Linked DNA regions of Homo sapiens: regions 1, 2, 3 and 5 are each linked to region 4. Evidence: promoter capture Hi-C in human tissues and cell types (Jung and others, 2019). All regions are on one chromosome and are shown on one strand. The core of a region is centred on a gene start or on the middle of the fragment in contact, and the rest is flanking DNA. Distances in the headings are between cores, read along the strand shown.

Region 1 (3,464 bases), core at 853-3,352, 330 kb before region 4:
GTTTGCTTTATATAATCCATGACTCTCTTAACAGCTTTTTGTTTTTTCTGCAGTTTTATTTGTGTTTTCTGGTTCTGTCTTTAGCATATTCTTAAATTTTTGTTTGCAAATTCTTAGCCGTGCCATTCTATTAATTTCCTCCAAAGCTCTGTATCTTAGAATCTTCTGCCTTCTGGTTGTTCTCTAGACCTGCTGTTATAGAGCTGTTGCCTGGGATTTGGTGAGGAATACTTTTAAACTAACATCTTCTGTCTCTTTTTAATTTTTAGCTCATGGTTTCTTAAGGAAATGCATAGTTTAAGGTCTCATGTCTAACAGTACAGCAAGGACAAGATGTTGACAGAGAACAGACGTAGGAAAAGTGGCGTCTGGACATTTGAGGTGCGGCTTATGAGGAAAGCTATTTTTTTAGACAGGTTGTAGTCATGGTTAACCTAATTCCTAGGCTCTGATTTCAATAAACATTCACTGAATGCCTACAATTTGGCAGGCACTGGGCTAAATTTAGGTGCTGAGGATTTCCATTGCAGGAGCTGGTGTGGAGGCAGCAGGATCACCTGTAAGTGGCTGATGACATGTAATAGATGTTAAAGGTGTTCAGGAACCTTGTATTTTCATCCTTAATTACTGTAATTCTCTTATCCCATCCAATAAGCACAGTGTAACGGTGCTTATATGTCCCTAGACACGTAGAGTATTTCACATGTAGGAAACAGGTTTAAGATGTTCAAAGGGGAATCAGTTGACACCCATACTAAGTAGAGAGCAGAGGTGGTTTTAGGAAAAGCACCAAACTCTCACACTGAATATTAGTGAGTGATAGAGCTGATTAATATGGAAAATTATAATGAACCATCTTGTGGGGGGGTGTCCTGATAGCCCCCCACACTGGAAAAAACCATGACATTGCAAATTAATTTCTAGTTGGTGGAGTATGGTGGGGGAGGTTTTGAACTGGGCACCTTAGTGCTTTGTCTTCTGGACCTGCTGTTATTCTGGAGTTTTCTCCAAACTAGTTCACCAAAAAGTAACATAAGACATTTGCATCATCTTGCTGCTGTAGCTAAAAGATGTTCTCTCTTACTTTTGAAAGAAATTCTTTCTCTTTGTTCAGCTCCCCTTTCTTCCCCCTCCTAGTTTTGAACTGAGATTATCACAAGGATCAGTGAGATAGAAGAAATAAATAATAAAGACACTAACACTGAATGCTTATTATGTGCCAGGCACTGTTCTAATCTTCATAGCAATCCCATGAAATAGGCTCTCTTGTTGGCTACATTTTATAGAGCAGGAAACTGAAGCCTGGAGAAGTTAGATTAGTTGCCCAAGGTCACATAGTAAGTGGTGGGGCTGGGATTCACAACCAGGCAATTCAGTTCCTGAGCCCAGTCTTCGCCACTGTGTTTTCCTCTGTCTCATTTCACCTTAGTTACGGATAAAGCTGTAAGAGAAAATGGCTTTCTGTCTGTTGGCCAAGTAGGCTTGCTGACCCCTCACCCTTGAGTGACACACTTAGCAGGCACAGGCAGGCCGGACAGTTGCAGGCCTCCTCTACAGGGTGGGGGAGCACAGCCTGTGTGTACTCATTTCCTTCTCTTGAGTACCACTAATTTGATAGTTCACGTATCCTCTACTAAGAGGTAGAGTGAGACAGCTTAGGGACATCAGAAGTACTACTTTCGGTTCTTCCACATGGAAACATGAGGAACGAGGAATAAGTATTCTTTCCCTAACACTTACAGTGCACTTAAGACAAAGTTTTTTTTTTTTTTGGACTGAATATACGTCGATGGACACAGGCCCAGATATGGAGAAAGGGCAGGTTTCCTCTAGGCAAGATTTGCACGGGGAACCTGAAGCTCACATAGCTTCAGCCCTGCGCCACAGCTTAGCCTTAGTCACATAGGTTTCCCTAGGTCATAGCCCAGTCTCAGGCTGCCCACTTTATTTGAAGGCAAGGGAAAAACAACAGTCCAAATAAGATAATTTGAAACAAGCATCTTTTCATTTAGTTTTCTGCTACAAAGTTGTCTTTAATTTCTTCTCCTGTATCATTTGCCATGGGTGGGAGGGCAAAATATTAAAGTAGAAAGAACATAGTTGTATTTTTTTTTTAATTAAAAAAATCTTTTTTGAGACAGAGTCTCACTTTGTCACCCAGGTTGGAGTACAGTGGCAGGATCTCGGCTCACTGCAACCTTTTACTCCCAGGTTCAAATGATTCTCCTGCCTCAGCCTCCCAAGTAGCTGGGACTACAGGCACCCGCCACCATGCCCAGCTAAATATTTTGTGTTTTTAGTAGAGGTGGGGTTTCACCATGTTGGCCAGGCTGGTTTTGAACTCCTGACCTCAAGTGATCTGCCTGCCTTGGCCTCCCAAAGTGCTAGGATTACAGGCATCAGCCACTGCGCCCGGCCTAGTACGTGGCTTTAGAATGAGAGACCTAGGTTTGAATCTAGCTTTGTTACTGAACAAATTATTTAACCTGTTTGTGATATGCCTTCCTTATTACTCTACAAAGTGGAGAGGATAAGACCTACCTTGTAGGGTTGGTGTATTAAAGTGTACCAGGTATTTGACGTTTAGCAGTTTAAAAAAGGTAGCCTCTATTATTATTATTAAAGCAATTAAAAATAGAGACTTAAAAAATAATTTAACAACTTTAAACGAGCAGGTGAACAGTTTTTTCAGGCAAATCTCCCTTCATCTCCGCTGGGAAAGAGGTGATCAGTATTGGGTGTATTGTCTGTTTATCTACATACACACCCATGTATGAAGATGAATACACAAAACAAATTTTCAGATATACCTCCTATAGGCAATACTAGTTACCTGTATGTGTGTGCAATTTAGTTTTAAAATTACAATTCATATCCTCATTTACTTTTTTCCACCAAGATTATAAATTTGCTTTCAAAGCTTTTAATACTTTAAAACTTTTTGTCGTTGTCCTTCAAGCATTCAAAGATTCCCGTTGCTTTCTTCAAAACATCTTTAGCTTAGTTGACAAATACCATAAACTTGGAAGGCATACTCTTATTAAAAAGGGTCTCACCTTGTCGTCCCTGCTGGAGTGCAGTGGTGCCATCACGGCTGACTGCAGCCTCGACCTACTAGGTTCATACAATCCTCCTGCCTCAGCCTCCTGAGTAGCTGGGACAACAGACGCATGCCATCGTGCCTGGCTAATTAAAAAAGAATTTTTGGTAAAGACAGGGTCTCCCTACGTTGCTCAAGCTGGTCCTTGAATTCTTGAGCTCAAGCGATCCTCCCTCCTCAGCCTCCTAAAGTGCTGGCATTATAGTTGTGAGCCACCACACCTGGTCGGCATACTGTTCTATAGAGTTGGTTCGATCGATCCTGGGACATGAAATAATGAAAGAATTATTTTTTCTTCTCTAAGACAGTTCCTATTGCCTCCCTCCCTACTCCAGGTGTTGCCCCAAATTTGCCATATTTTGCT
Region 2 (3,407 bases), core at 636-3,135, 300 kb before region 4:
CCAGTTTATGAAATCTTTGCCTGGAAGTTACCTATAATAATTTACGAAATTGCTAAGCCTTAAAGAGGACCATTTAGAGCTGTAGTAAATAAAAAGTAAGTGTTTATTAGTCCCCAACTTTGTGCCAGGCTGTGGCACTTTCATATTGGGGAATAGAGCTAGGCTAGCCTAGTGGTGCAGAGGAGGGACCTTAGAGCCAGACTGTGGGCTGGAATCCTAGCACCCCAACCTGCTAGATGTAAGGCACTTACCTTTTTTCTTCCTCAGGTTCCTTTGAACAGTGTCGAGCACACAGGCTTAGCTCCATTATGGTTACTTTGGGAATAGCCTCTCGACTCAAATTGGGAATAAGAAATGTCACTGTTAAAGAAATCCCTAAAAGAAAGACAAGTAAAAAAAAAAAAAAAACCCAATAATAATGGAGAGGAGAGTGCCATTTAGAACCTATCTCTGATAAATATACAGTTGGCCTTCTGTATCTGTGGGTTTCACATCTGTGGTTCAACCAACCACAGATTGAAAATAGTTTTTAAAAAACTATGAAAAATAATACAACAATAAAAGTAAAAATTTAGGGCCGGGCGCGGTGGCTCATGCCTGTAATCCCAGCACTTTGGGAGGCGGAGGCCAGCGGATCATGAGGCCAGGAGATTGAGACCATCCTGGCTAACACAGTGAAACCCTGTCTCTACTAAAAATACAAAAAAAAAAAAAAAAGCCAGGCGTGGTAGCGGGCGCCTGTAGTCCCAGCTACTCAGGAGGCTGAGGCAGGAGAATGGCGTGAACCTGGGAGGTGGAGCTTGCGGTGAGCTGAGATCACGCCACTGCACTCCAGCCTGGGCGACAGAGCGAGACTCCGTCTCAAAAAAAAGTAAAAATGTAAAAAGCAGTACAGTATGACAACTATTTACATAGCATCTACTTTGTCTTAGGTGTTTTAAGTAATCAAGAGATGATTTGAAGTATATGGGAGGATATGTGTGGGTTTTATGCAAATACTACACCATTTTATATAAGGACTTGCACATCTGTGGATTTTGGTATTCATGGGAGGTCCTGGAAGCAGTCCCACTCAGGATACTGAGGGATGACTGTATACACATGTGATAGGGCTTTTGAAGTGAGAACTAAGCTTACAAGAATCAGGATGGTTTTTACTTAGCCTTATTAAGAACAGAATTAATTAAATAAAATTATGGAGATAAGCGTGGAAAGCTAGAACAGGAGAAACTTCGTTTGAGCTCCACATTTTATTTACTCCTACTCTGCTGTAATGATTCTCACTATGGGTGACACCTGGAGTTTGCAAGGCAGCTCCCCCCAGTTTGATGCCCAGTCCTTTGGGGCCATCTTCCATCCTCCTCCTTTTGCTCCTCTGTGTTTGAAAATGGCTTAGTGAGCCACCACTGCTGATAGATATACGTTTTAGCTTTGGAAAAACATGGAGGGTGAGCAGTGTGTAACACAACACTGCAGCTGGATGATGTCTTCTGGGCCCAAGGGCTCTCAGGGGCTGTCAGCCGCTGGGGGTCTGCTTTCACTTCCTGGCCTCGCTTCCTTCTCACAGCCCCATCCAGGGAACAGGTGTCTCCCCTGCCTGCTGTTTCACACAGAGATGCAGGTGTGCCGATCCTCACCTGTCCAGAGGTGCTGAGCCAGTCGTCCTCTCGGTTGCTGCCAGGGTTATCTGCCTCCCCCTTTAGTTGCCCTTCTGGTACCTCCCAGAACTGCTCACTGGCTTTGCAGCCTGTGCTCTCCCTGCAGGCCCCCACCCTTACCCCCATCAGTTTCATTGGAACTATTTTTTCAGGAGTTTCTCAATTCTGATCCAGGCACAAGCAAGCACTCTTGGTTTCAAAACCTTGTTCTTTTTTCCCCCTTCTCTTCCTTTTTGGCAATTTCCCCACTTCCCCCATCGCCTGTCGTTTTGAGTTAATTTTAGCTGGGTGATGGATATCAGTATGCATTATTAATTTACCATCTTAACCTAATTTTCTTTCTTAAAAAAATTAACCTTTTAGACTTCTGGTCCAGATAATCTTGTGAGTTTACACAGAAACATTCTCCTGCCAACATCAAAATTATAGCAGAGATAGATAAAATATTTTAGAATGTGCGAATCATGTAATCAAACTCAAAAACAAATTTAGACTGGGCATGGTGGCTCACAGCTGTAATCTCAGTACTTGGGAGGCTGAGGCTAGAGGATTGCTTGAGGCCAGGAGTCTGAGACCAGCCTGGGCAACATAGTGAGACCCCATCTCTACACAAAACTAGAAAAACACAACAACAACATATATAACTTCAAGGACCAGCAGTAAGCGAGGGCTGAAGTGACATATTTCCAGGGCTTTGGAATCAGACCAGGTGCCTGGAGGTGATTGGAAGTTCAACTCTTGCCGACTAATGGGGGCACTGGTGTATGGTTGGGGACTGGAGCCAGGCTCACCATGTGAAAACTGATTTGGGCGAGCCTTCTCTGTGAGTGAAAGCTTACAGTCAGTTTTTGGCCACCAACATTGAGCTAATGTCTGTGTTAATAGGAAGGGATGGAGACATTGGGCCTTGAGAAGACCCAAAATCTGGGCTTCAGTAATGGAAATGACAGCATAAACTAGTCATGGAAAGGTGGCCATCAGGAGAGGAAAAAATAAGCAATCATGTAAACCATAAAATAAACACTCCCTGCTAAGATGTACCTGCAAACTAACATGCAAACCATCATCAGGAAGCATAGCAACAGACTCCCAAAGTGGGAGAATGTGACAAAATGTGAACCGAGATACATTTTAAAACAATTGCACTTAAAATCTTTACGGAGATAAAAATCACAAAACACAAGTAAGTAGATTTCAAACTGACAGAAATCGAAAAAGTGAAAGATGCAGTCAGTGAAAAATTTGCCTTTGCTTAGTTGGTTTAAAAAGAAATAATTAGTGAAAAAGAAGCTTTTCAAACAGTGCAAAAGAACTATGTGATATTCTAGAAAGTGGTGATAAGGTGAAAGATCAAAACAGATCATCTGTAAGATCCCACCAAGTAGCATTTTAATACAGATTGTTCCTGCTTTTTATGCATATAGTTTTTTGGTACAAATATGGAATCATACTCTAGACTTTTATAACTTTTTCATTAACATAAACTTTTTTTAAATTAGTAAGTCTTCTATACCCTCAAATCTATACTTGCACATGGGCATGTCATAATTTATGTAAACATTCTGCTATTTTAAGCTATTTTGGACATGCTATAGTGAGCATCTTTAAATGTTATTTAAAAAATATCTTTTTCTTTGACTACAAAAATAAAAATATTGAAAAAATATAAAAACATGAAACAGATCACTAATTTCGCTGCAAAAAAATAAACTATAGATGTAATTCTGTGTGTGTGACTGTAGGTGCATG
Region 3 (3,661 bases), core at 104-2,603, 450 kb before region 4:
TCACAAGAAAGCCAGAGATAGGGCTTGAAAGGTTGTCTTTTTGGATGGCCTCCCTGTGGCCTCTCCCTGTATCCCACCTGCCTCCACCCCTCCTAGATAGGAGCACTCACCCTACCCCAGCTCAGCTGGCCATTTATCATCATCTTCTTTTTTTATTTAAAAGATCTCCCTTCTCTGGAAGATGATCCCACAGATAACCATTCCAGGGCTTACCCACTCTCAGGTCAGGAAATACTCCCTTGCCCCAAACCTGTACATAGCATGAGGGGTTTATTTAGATTTAAGCCCGTTTTCCTCTTGTTCTGGTCTCTTGGTGACGGAACAGCTATTCATGAGGACGTGCAATGGACATCTGTTCCATTGCTGAGATCCAGAAGAGTTTGTACCAGGGTCATTTTTTCCCTTCTTTCTCACATTGGAGAACCTCCCCTGAGGAAGGGCTGGAATCAGGGGTGGCAGGTGTCTCTACAGGTACTTAGTGTCCTTGGAAGCCCAGCGTGACCTTTGCTTCTCTATTTTGTCATTGTCCTGAGGAGCTACTCCACAGTCACTTCTGCACATCCCCCTGCACGTCTTCCTTTGTATGTCTACCTCTCTAACCCAAGTCTTGTCCATAAAGCTTATCCTTCCAGCTTTGCTGCAGTCCTGACGAGTGTGTCCTCTGCATCTCTGGAAACCACTCCATGGCCATTCTCTAGGTCCACAGCGCCACCTAGTGGCCAATATGGAGCACGCCAGCCCCTGCCTTCCTAGCAGTCCGCCTGAGTCTGTAGGAGTCGAGTTCTTTCTGACTTCCTGCTGGCTTAGTGACCCCATTAACCTGAGCTTCTTTCTCCTTTACAGGCGGCTATGAGAGGTTTTCCTCCGAGTACCCAGAATTCTGTTCTAAAACCAAGGCCCTGGCAGCCATCCCACCCCCGGTTCCCCCCAGTGCCACAGAGCCCTTGGACCTGGGCTGCAGCTCCTGTGGGACCCCACTACACGACCAGGTAGACTCGGGGGGCAGGGCTTGGAAGTGGGGGGCAGGAACAGCGTAGGGGCCAGTGGATGCCTTCTTTTCAGAGTTCTGACGGTGTTTTTTGTCTTTGCTTTTGAGACAGTCTTGCTCTGTCACCCAGGAGTGCAGTGGTGTGATCATAGCTTACTGCAGCCTCGAACTCCTGGGCTCAAGGGATCCTCCCTGGTAGCTGGGACTACAGGTGGCACTACCATGCCTGGCTAATTTTAAAAGGTTTTTGGTAGAGATGGGGGGGGGGGGTCTTGCTATGTTGCCCAGGCTGGTCTTGAACTCCTGGCCTCAAGTGATCCTCCTGCTTTGGCCTCCCAAAGTGTTGGGATCACAGGCGTGAGCCACTGCATCCAATCCTGAGATTTTTTTAAGTCTTTGAATGTTATGCCTCAATTTGGGGAGAATGCGGTGAACCCGGAGTATTGGGGTGGGATGTTAGGTAGGACCTATTTACTTCTTGGAAATCTTCCCCTTCCCTCTCTAAATATCCTCCTAAGAAAAAAGTCTAAAGACATGACTCCCTGGCTTGGCCTCTAACGTCGTGTCCGGACAAGTGAGGAGGCCTCCAGAAGCCCTGGGGGACCTGCTCTCTGGGAAGCTGAGGTCATTCTCCTCTGAAGTAGCAGGCCATGAAATACATCTCAGTCCCCGACAGGCAGGCTGCTCCCACGTATCAGCCGAATGAACATAGATGGTCACCCACCCTCCCTCCAAGAAAACCTGCTTGAGCCACTGTGTTTCTTATAAGCCCACCCTCCAGCCCTTTCAGTTAGATGGACTCTGCTGCCCACATCTCATGTGCTAAATTTAAGCCACTGTTGCCTCATTTTGCCAAGATCCTCTCTCTTGTCTGTGTGGCCATGAGGGCATCAGCTTATTTATTTGTTTATTTTTAGAGACAGAGTCTCACTCTGTTACCCAGGCTTGAGTCCTGTGGCGCAATCATAGCTCACTGCAGCTTCAAAGTCCTGGGCTCAAATGATCCTCCCATTTCAGCCTCCCAAGCAACTGAGACTACAGGTGTGCACCATCATGCCAGCTTCATTGTTTGAGAGATGAGGTCTCACTGTGTTGCCCATGCTGGTCTTGGAACTCCTGGCTCACATGATCCTGCCACCTCAGCCTCCTAAAGTGCTGAGATTACAGGTGTGAGCCACTGCACACCTGTTTTTGATATGCCCAGTGAATACATATCAAAACAAATAAGTATCTAAACCACACAGCAAATGGCTTGATGATTAGCAGATATAAACTCAGTGTCACAGATGGTGCCATAAGGCCGGCATTGTCCTGCCGCTTATTTTGCCATGGGGGAGGTGCAGGAGAGTCCCACAAGACTTTACCTGCCCTGGCCTCTCTGCTCACAAGTAGAGGGCAAAGGCTGGAGAAGTCCCACTGGGCCTATCACCCCTCCAAGAGTTCCAGGAGGCTACAGGGGGAGGCTGGGAGGGCCAGGCCCAGCAGGCATTCTCCCTGGGTTTGGAAAGGAAAGCTCTTCTCAGACAAGCTTCCACTCCCTGTGCCAAGCACTTTACCCTCATGTCATTCAGGGGCCTTTGTTTCCCTTTCTGTGCAGGGGGGTCCTGTGGAGATCCTTCCCTTCCTCTACCTCGGCAGTGCCTACCATGCTGCCCGGAGAGACATGCTGGACGCCCTGGGCATCACGGCTCTGTTGAATGTCTCCTCGGACTGCCCAAACCACTTTGAAGGACACTATCAGTACAAGTGCATCCCAGTGGAAGATAACCACAAGGCCGACATCAGCTCCTGGTTCATGGAAGCCATAGAGTACATCGGTAGGCTGGCCCTGCTCTGGGGTTCCTGGGTTTGAGGGCGGGTGGGAAGGATAAGGAACCCCTGTAAGCCTGGGTTGAAGGTGGACATTGGAGGCACTGAATCCAAGGGTCCCCATTCCCCCTCTTCCTCATTGGGAAGGCTTATACATTGGATGTTGGGTTGGGAGGGAGGAGGGAAGATGGACCTACACACAGGCTTAGCTTGCAGAGCCAGTCCCCTTCCCCTTGCATGGCTTCAGTGCCTAGATGGTAAGAGTTTTTGGACGGGGAGGAAGACACAAGGAGCATTGAGTCATAGTTTTTATTTTATTTCTATTTATTTATTTATTTTGAGACAGAGCCTTGCTCTGTTGCCCAGGCTGGAGTGCAGTGGCGCCATCTCAGCTCACTGCAACCTCCGCTTCTGGGGTGCAAGTGATTCTCCTGCCTCAGCCTCTGGAGTAGCTGGGACTACAAGTGCACCACCACGCCCAGCTAATTTTTGTATTTTTGTAGAGACAGTTTCATCATATTGCCCAGGCTAGTCTTGAACTCCTGAGCTCAAGTTATCCACCCTCCTTGGCCTCCCAAAGCGCTGGGATTACAGGAGTGAGCCACCACCCTGGACCCCACTGTTTTGTTTCTGCAAAGGGAAATCCTTGAACAGATAATAGGATTTAACCAGCTTCAGCATAGTGATTCGGGAAAATAGACCTCAGAATTGGGGGCATTCTAGAGACCTGCCTACATGGGTTTTCTTCCTCTCCAGTCCTTGGTCTAGCACGGCTAGTCCTTCCTTCAGAGCCCCCCGACCCCAGGGGCTGGCCGGTGCCCCTGGTCGGGGCTGGGGTCTGCAGAAACGTGCACTAACCTATTG
Region 4 (3,791 bases), core at 1,041-3,540:
GCTAGATCAAGCAACTTAATTGCACAATTTTAAAATAAGTTTAATGCAAAGCACTGCAATCCTGATGTGATAATTACCTGCAGCATAAATGCAAAATAATAAATGCATTTAACGATGCATTTTATGGTAAAACCACAAAAAGCACAACCATATTAGCACAAACTAAATAAAAAGACACAGGCGGTATTATGTCCAACAGAAAGAGAAATGTTGTACGAAGCCAAGAAAGAAAGGAAGGACTTAAGGAAGGAAGGAAGGAGGGAGGATAGGAAGGAAGGAAGAGGGAAGCCAGAGGTTTCTGTACCTGCAGGATACCAGAGAAATGAGCTAGTCACATCACTCTACCTTATATGATACATGGGTGATTTTTTTTAAGCTTCAGCGTAAATAAAAACAGTAATCACTTTATACCATTCAACTTTACATAGTGTTATCTTTAATGCCAACTGCATTCTTCCCTTTACTCACCCAATGCTTCTTCACTGTTCCATTCCACCAGCTTTCAGGCAAATGCAAGACAGAACAGGGTGGAGTAGAAGAAAAATACAAGCAGCGCCTTTCGGCGCACCCCCTCTCCCGCAAATAATTTCCAACAGTTCCTCCTGCTACGAAAATAAGTCGCCCTATCTCCAGATACATAACAGACATTCCGTCTCCTTAGTAGACACACACAGACGCGTACACAATCCAGCACTCCCGACCCCCACCCCAGGCCCCCCGAATCTTCAGCAATTATTCATCTAATTCACACGAAGACAAGATACCTCTACCTACTGTTTCGGGGTGAAGGTGGGTGGAGGACGCCTTTCAAAGTAGCCCCAATAGTGTAACCAAAACACGGTTCCGGAATAAAATATTAAGAAACACTTTTCCTTTCCCACCTATCTACCGACTTGAGGATGCAAAAAATCCATCTCCACATCACACCATCTCTACAGTTCTCGTGGCTGGAGTTTGGGGTGGAGATTCGTCCAGGGGAGGGGGCGGAGGCGAGTGGCAGAGTGTGAGCGGGCGACGGGACACAAGCGAGTTGTTGAGCCCGGCCGCCTCGCACCACGTCGCCAGCCCAAACGCCCAGCACCAGGACCTCACGCCCGCCCCTCAGCCCAGGCCCAGAGCGAGCGAGGACTCGCGCTGTCTAACTTCCCATCTACAGACACCGCTCCAAGACGAGCAGAGCACACAAGTACACGTCACACAGTTTAAACACACTTACACACCCCAAACAAACCAACACACCTGCAAATCACCTCACAGTTTCCAGAACTCCACACCGGAGACCCCACCTCCAGGATTCAAACCTTCCGCTCATCGTAGAGGAAACCAGAAGAGTTGGGGGGCAGTCGACGCCTTTCCAGGACCGGACCCCACGAACTGCCCCACCCCACAGCCCGCGTCTGGGTCACCCACTCGGAAGCCCCCTGCTTCCTCCCTCCTCTCAATCCGGCCGCTTACGAGACCCATCCCCAGCGTCCGCTCACTTCCTCCCCAAAACCCCTCCAAAAAAATTGTTTTAAGTGAAGAGAAAGAAGTGAGGAAAGAGACTTGAGGTAGTCCGGCTTCAAAACCGCTCGACTCACCTCAGAATCCTCGCTGAGTTCTCTCCGCCCGGCACAGCCCCCTCCCCAACGTCCCAGTACGAAGGGCTGAGATAGGGAGGAGGGAAGGCGGGAGGGGGAGGGGTGTCTTCCGCGTGGGGCGCCCGTCGGGAGGGGACTGGGGAGGGGTTGAGGCCGGCGCAGGAAGAGGAGAAGGGGGAGGGGAGGCCCCTATCTCCCAGTCTCCCCCTGAAAAACCTCCCTTGTCTCAATCACATCAGACTGACTGTCTTTGTCTGGCTGACAACCGCCATATTGATATCAACAGCCCCTCTCCCACCTGCTGCCGCCGGGCGTCCCTGGGAGTTGTAGTTCCTGCCTCCCCTGAGAAAAATTGCGGAGCCCGGCGCCTAGAGGGCCAAGGGAACTACAACTTCCGGCAAGCCCCGTGCCCATCCGCCTTCCCTTTGGGAGGAGGGAAAGGGGAGTCGGAGCCGTCGGGACTACACATCCCAGAACACCATGGGCCCCAGGCCCGTAAGGAAGACATGATATCATGCTGGGGTGGAGAGGGAGGATGCATTGGCGGCTGGGATGAATTTGAGCTGACGGAAGGAGGCGTTCGGAGAGGAAAGGGAGGAAAAGGAAAGGCGACCACAGTTCCCATGATGCCTGGAGGGGAGACTACATTTCCCATTATTCCCCTGGAAGGGACGTGAGGATGAAAGACTGCAAGTCCCGCGATGCTCTCGGCTGGCAGGTGGCGGAGATTGCACCGGAAGACGCTTCCTGGGTTTGAGGAGTTCAGTGACTGCTATTGAACCACCAAAAGTCCATTATGAAACTGGTGAGTCTTCGCTCCTAGGTCAGAGGGCAAAGGTGATGCTATAACCTTTTGGACCTCTTTTTTTCCTACGTTGGGCAGGGAATCGTCGCACGGGAGGGGTAGCAATTATTGAGCTGGAAAGTGGAGTGGGCTAAGGAAAGCTGCTTTTTGTTGTTGAGAAGGTTTGAATTCCCTCTCCCCCACCCCATCCCTCCCAGGAGGTCTTTTTTCACTCGTTAGTGGGTCTTTTTGTTCAGACAAGAGGTTGACTGTCACAGTCCTTCGCCCATGAACTCTGTGGGCTCTGTTAACCAGGTTTGGACGTCCTGGTTCCCACGTGAGGGTTATAATAGGCTGTTAACAATCCGTTTCCATTCGATTGGCGCTTGAGTATCCTGTCTCCCTACTGTTGTTGAGACTGGCTAGATTTAAGCAGACAGTAAAAAACATCCAGCAGAACGTAATCACTTATTAAATATCCTGTTATATAGACTCCTCACTGCCCTTGGAATTCAGGACGAGGTCAGAGTGTGGAGAAGTTGAGTCTTAAACCCTGCATGGGATTTAGATGGGCAGAGAAGTGTTATATGGTATTCCATTCTAAGACTGTAGGGACTTCATGAGCCAAGGCTGAATGAAGCGTGCTCGGTATACCTGAAGTCTTAACATCACACAGCTCAAGCACCTGGTTCATGGAGGCTCCTCAGACCTTTGATTTGAGCCATTTGACTCATTGTGCACACAAGTCTAACTAGTTTATTCCAACTCGATTCAATTAGTTAATAACATAGTGTAGAAAGGCAGGTGTGAAACACTGTTTCTCAACCTTTTAAAACCCATATTTGTGCAGCCAAGTTATTGTCAAGCTTTACTTGAGGCAGGAGAATCGCTTGAACCCGGGAGGCAGAGGTTGCAGTAAGCCAAGATCGCGCCACTGCACTCCAGCCTTGCAACAGCGCGAGACTCTGTCTCAAAAAAAAAAAAAGTTTATTTTTTACCATTTATATAATTATCTGAACATGCTTTGCCAAACCACACAACACACCTACCCTCATCTTGATAATCATTGTGCTACAGGCATATATTCTGCAAAGCCAGCTGTTTTCTGCGAAGTCAGAGAAAGTATTAAAAGTGGATTCAATTCCGAAATTGTCCCCGTATAAATCTGTTTATATAAGGGGAAGGATGCGGGTCACTAAACCTTGAGAATAGCAACTTACCCCTGGGTCAGTGTGTTACACATTTAATAATGCAGAATTAAAAGTCATAGCCGTTGCCCTACAGAAGCATGCAACCTAAGAAGAAGATAGAAAAGTAAACCAAAGTTATTATTTATTTATTTAGAGACAGGGTCTGGCTTTGTGGGGCCCAGACTGAAGTGCAGTGGCGCGTTCTCAGCTCGCTGCTACCTCCACCTTTCGGACTCA
Region 5 (3,649 bases), core at 318-2,817, 270 kb before region 4:
CAGCTAGTAAAAGGCAGTAGGATGGAAATAGGCTCAGTGTGCTCAAAGAACAGATGGGAGGCCGATGTAGCTGGCACATGCTCTGTGAGGGGAAGATGGTGAGTGTGAGGGTCAGAGACAGGCAGGGACAGGTTGTAGAATGCTTTGTAAGCCCGGGTAAGAATTTGGGCTTTATTGGAAGTTCAAAGAGAAGCCACTAGAAGGTTTTATTCTTACTTTTTTTTTTTTTTTTTTTGAGGCAGGGTCTTGTTCTGTCACCCAGGTGAGAGTGCAGTGGTACGATTATGGCTTATTGCAGCCTCAATCTCCTGGGCTCAAGTAATCTTCCTGCCTCATTTTTATATTTATTTATTTATTTATTGAGACGGAGTCTTGCTCTTTCGCCCAGGCTGGAGTGCAGTGGCACGATCTCAGCTCACTGCAACCTCCACCTCCCAGGTTCAAGCCACTCTCCTGCCTCAGCCTCCCGAGTAGCTATGATTATAGGCATGTGCCACCACACCTGGCTAATTTTTTTGTATTCTTAGTAGAGACAAGGTTTCACCATGTTGGCCAGGCTGGGCTTGAACTCCTGACTTTGAGTGATCCACCCACCTCAGCCTCCCAAAGTGCTGGGATCACAGGTATGAGCCACCGCACCTGGCCACAATTTTTTTTTTTTTTTTTTTTTTTTGGTAGAGACGAGGTCTCACTGTGTTGCCCGGGCTGGTCTTGATCTCCTAGGTTCAAGCGATTCTCCTGCCTTGGCTTCCCAAATTGCTGGGATTACAGGTGTAAGCTACCATGCCCACTCTTAGAAGGTTTTAAATAGGGGATGGTGTGACCAGCTGTTGTGGCAGGAGTGGAAGGGAGTGGCATGCAATGGAGACACAGTAGGAAGCTCCTGTATCCACAGGCAAGAGATCCTGGAGGCTGAATCTAGGATGTAGTCATGGAGGTGGGGATCACAAGCTTATTCTTGATAGACCTTGGAGGAAAAATCTGTAAGGTTTTCCCTGATTGACATGGGGTGGGTATGGGCTTGTAAGAGAAAGAAAGAGGACTCAAGAATTATATCTAAGCTTTTCAGTTGACTGACTGGTGGTGGTAGTGCCATCCATTATTATTGGAGAAGGAAATAGACTTCTGTTGGGTTAGGGGAGATGGGAACAAGAGTTTAGCTTTGGCGCTTATTCCATTTGATATATCTTCAGACATCCAAGTTGTGTCAAGTAGGCTGAGTAGGCAGAAAATAATAGTGGCTGAGGCTGGGCACAGTCGCTCACACATGTCATCCCAGTACTTCAGGAGGGTGAAGTGGAAGGATTGCTTGAGCCCAGGAGTTTGAGATCAACCTGAGCAACATAGTGAGACCCTGTCTCTACAAAAAAAAAAAAAAAAAAAAAATTAGTTGGTCAAGGTGGTGCCTGCCTGTGATCTCAGCTACTCAGAGGCTGAGACAGGAAGATTGCTTGAGCCCAAGAAGGTGAGGTTTAGTGAGCATGGATAGTGTCTCTGCACTCCAGCCTGGGTGACAGAAAAAGACCCTGTCTCAAAAATAAATAAATAAATAAAAAATAAGTGACTAAGACTGCGATAGTGGTTGTGGAGGTGGGGAAAAAAACGGAACTAAAGTATGTAGCTCTAGGGTGGTGATAGAGATGTAGTTTATTTGTAGATGGCATTTAAAACCATGGGAGTAGGTGAGTTAGTCTAGGTCAGGGTCAACCAACTGCTTTTCACAGGCCAAATCTCGCTCCCTTCCTGTTTTTGTTTCAACCATGCCTGGCTTCATTTGCTTTTAAAAAATCTTTTAGGCCAGGCATGGTGACTCACACCTGTAATCCCAGCACTTTGAGAGGCCAAGACAGGTGGATCACTTGAGGTCAGGAGTTTGAGACCAGCCTGGCCAACATGGTGAAACCCTGTCTGTACTAAAAATACAAAAAAATGAGCTGGGCATGGTGGTGCATGCCTGTAATCCCAGCTACTCGGGTGGCTGAGGCAGGAGAATCGCTTGAACCTGGGAGGCGGAGGTTGCAGTGAGCTGAGATTGCACCATTGCCTTCCAGCATGGGGGATAGAGCAAGACTCTGTCTCAAAAATAAAATAAAAATAAAAAAAATTTTCGCAAAGGTAATAGGACAATATAAGAGGGCTCAGTGTAAATGATTTCAATTGTGTATATGTAAGAATACAGTATTAATCAGTGAATTTGGTTTTTTCTTAGGAACATACATTGATAGGGTCAGCAAATTCCCAAGATATCCAACTGTGCGGCATGGGAATTCTTCCTGAACACTGTATTATAGACATCACGTCAGAAGGCCAGGTTATGCTGACTCCTCAGAAGAACACCAGGTAACATACTTGAATTAGTGTTCATATCACAAGAGTTTTTCAGAGGAAGAAAGTACTCTAGTGGCAACAGTGGCCTTTGTTGCTTTTAAGTTGACCACATTAAGTAATCCAGTTGGTTGGGCGGGCCCCTTACATTTAGCTTTAATGCCTCTCACACCCATTCCTTCCTCTCTATACCCACTGCCATGGCCTTACGTATTTAGGCCCTCATCAAGTCTTGATCAGAGCCCCTGCCAACACCACGAGCTGCCTCCTGGTTCACTCACCACAGCCCTAGAAGGCTTTCCTCTGTTTGTGACAGAAAATCCCTTATAACCCCCCAGTTTATCTCCTCCTCCTCAGCACCTGCCAATCCTTTGACCTGCTAACTCCTGTTGGGTCTGCAGGGTTAAGTGCTGCCATGTTCTCCTGTGGGGAGTCACTGTTTGGTCTGAATGCACTGCCCTTAAGAGGTATCGGACCATCGCCCTGTTGTGGCAGTGCTTCTTAGTGTCTGCCTGTGGGCTGTGAACCCTTATTACCCCATTAGACCATGAGCTGCTTGAGGACAAGGGCCTTTCTTTTTTTGATTCTCCATTCCTGGCGCATAATATGAGACTAGTACACAGGAACTTAATACACCATGGAGGAATGAAGGGGCTCCAAATTTTATGAATGGCACGTTTGTCACTTTGTTTCCTTCAGCTATAGAGCTGTTATCCCCTGTTACAGAGTTGGAAGTATAACAGTCTGTAACTGTTAGAGACAGTGGTTAACTGAATTATGTTGACCTTTCAAATGCTAATTTGTTTCATTTTATGATGTCAAAAAATCATTAATATCACTGATTTTATCCATAAAGTCTTCAAGTATTGAGACTATCAAGCTCTGGGGAAGGATCAAGTGAGAAAACAGGAGCAGAAGCTGGTGTGGCCCTCACAGCTGTGTTGTGCTGTTCTCTAATGAGGCCATAAATAATCACACAGAACCCCAGCCTCAGGCAAGGGTTCTCCAAGACCAGGATGCAATAAGACAGAGCAGGCCACGTCATCGTTGCGTTTAAGTGCAGATGAAAACATGGTCACTGTGCCACCCAAAGAATACCCTTCTCTGAACCAGTATGAGTGACTGCTACTTCTTCACCAGTTGCAGCGTTATTCTGTTCTAGCCTGAACCCATGGATACGATTTTGTGAAATACCCATTCATACGATTACTCCCACTTTCTGACAGTACCCAGCATATGTGGAACCCCTGCGTTCTTAAATTCTGTCTGAAGTCATCCACCCAGAGCCAAAATCTTACAACAGTTTCTTTCTCACACCGGCTCC

What was found. Contacts are between HindIII fragments. The study calls those that stand out against the background at their distance.
Region 1: a contact is called between a fragment that was not itself captured here and the fragment with the promoter of INTS9 in region 4, in 2 of the 25 tissues and cell types used here (dorsolateral prefrontal cortex and mesenchymal stem cells).
Region 2: a fragment that was not itself captured here is called in contact with the fragment with the promoter of INTS9 in region 4 in 2 of the 25 tissues and cell types used here (IMR-90 fibroblasts and aorta).
Region 3: a fragment that was not itself captured here is called in contact with the fragment with the promoter of INTS9 in region 4 in 2 of the 25 tissues and cell types used here (dorsolateral prefrontal cortex and hippocampus).
Region 5: a fragment that was not itself captured here is called in contact with the fragment with the promoter of INTS9 in region 4 in 2 of the 25 tissues and cell types used here (IMR-90 fibroblasts and lymphoblastoid cells).

The regions. Positions count from the first base shown.
Region 1 is chr8:29,215,269-29,218,732 of GRCh38, reverse strand. The region is part of intron 2 of KIF13B (kinesin family member 13B); the gene reads left to right. Among named protein-coding and RNA genes, the nearest start is that of KIF13B, 46 kb to the left of the region's middle. The HindIII fragment of the contact is 7,775 bases long and covers 1-3,464 here.
Region 2 is chr8:29,191,292-29,194,698 of GRCh38, reverse strand. All of the region lies in intron 3 of KIF13B (kinesin family member 13B), which reads left to right. Among named protein-coding and RNA genes, the nearest start is that of KIF13B, 70 kb to the left of the region's middle. The HindIII fragment of the contact is 5,738 bases long and covers 1-3,407 here.
Region 3 is chr8:29,337,426-29,341,086 of GRCh38, reverse strand. It overlaps DUSP4 (dual specificity phosphatase 4), which reads left to right. Exons shown (of 4, transcript NM_001394.7): 2 at 844-989; 3 at 2,586-2,805. Among named protein-coding and RNA genes, the nearest start is that of DUSP4, 11 kb to the left of the region's middle. RefSeq lists an enhancer at 581-875. The HindIII fragment of the contact is 5,003 bases long and covers 1-3,661 here.
Region 4 is chr8:28,888,468-28,892,258 of GRCh38, reverse strand. It overlaps INTS9 (integrator complex subunit 9), which reads left to right and starts at 2,290. Exons shown (of 17, transcript NM_018250.4): 1 at 2,290-2,385. The coding sequence starts at 2,377. It overlaps HMBOX1 (homeobox containing 1), which reads right to left and starts at 1,864. Exons shown (of 10, transcript NM_001135726.3): 1 at 1,581-1,864. RefSeq lists a silencer at 1,622-1,741 and enhancers at 1,394-1,950, 2,112-2,311, 1,951-2,507. The HindIII fragment of the contact is 5,500 bases long and covers 1-3,791 here.
Region 5 is chr8:29,154,417-29,158,065 of GRCh38, reverse strand. It overlaps KIF13B (kinesin family member 13B), which reads left to right. Exons shown (of 40, transcript NM_015254.4): 14 at 2,210-2,340. Among named protein-coding and RNA genes, the nearest start is that of KIF13B, 110 kb to the left of the region's middle. The HindIII fragment of the contact is 4,521 bases long and covers 1-3,649 here.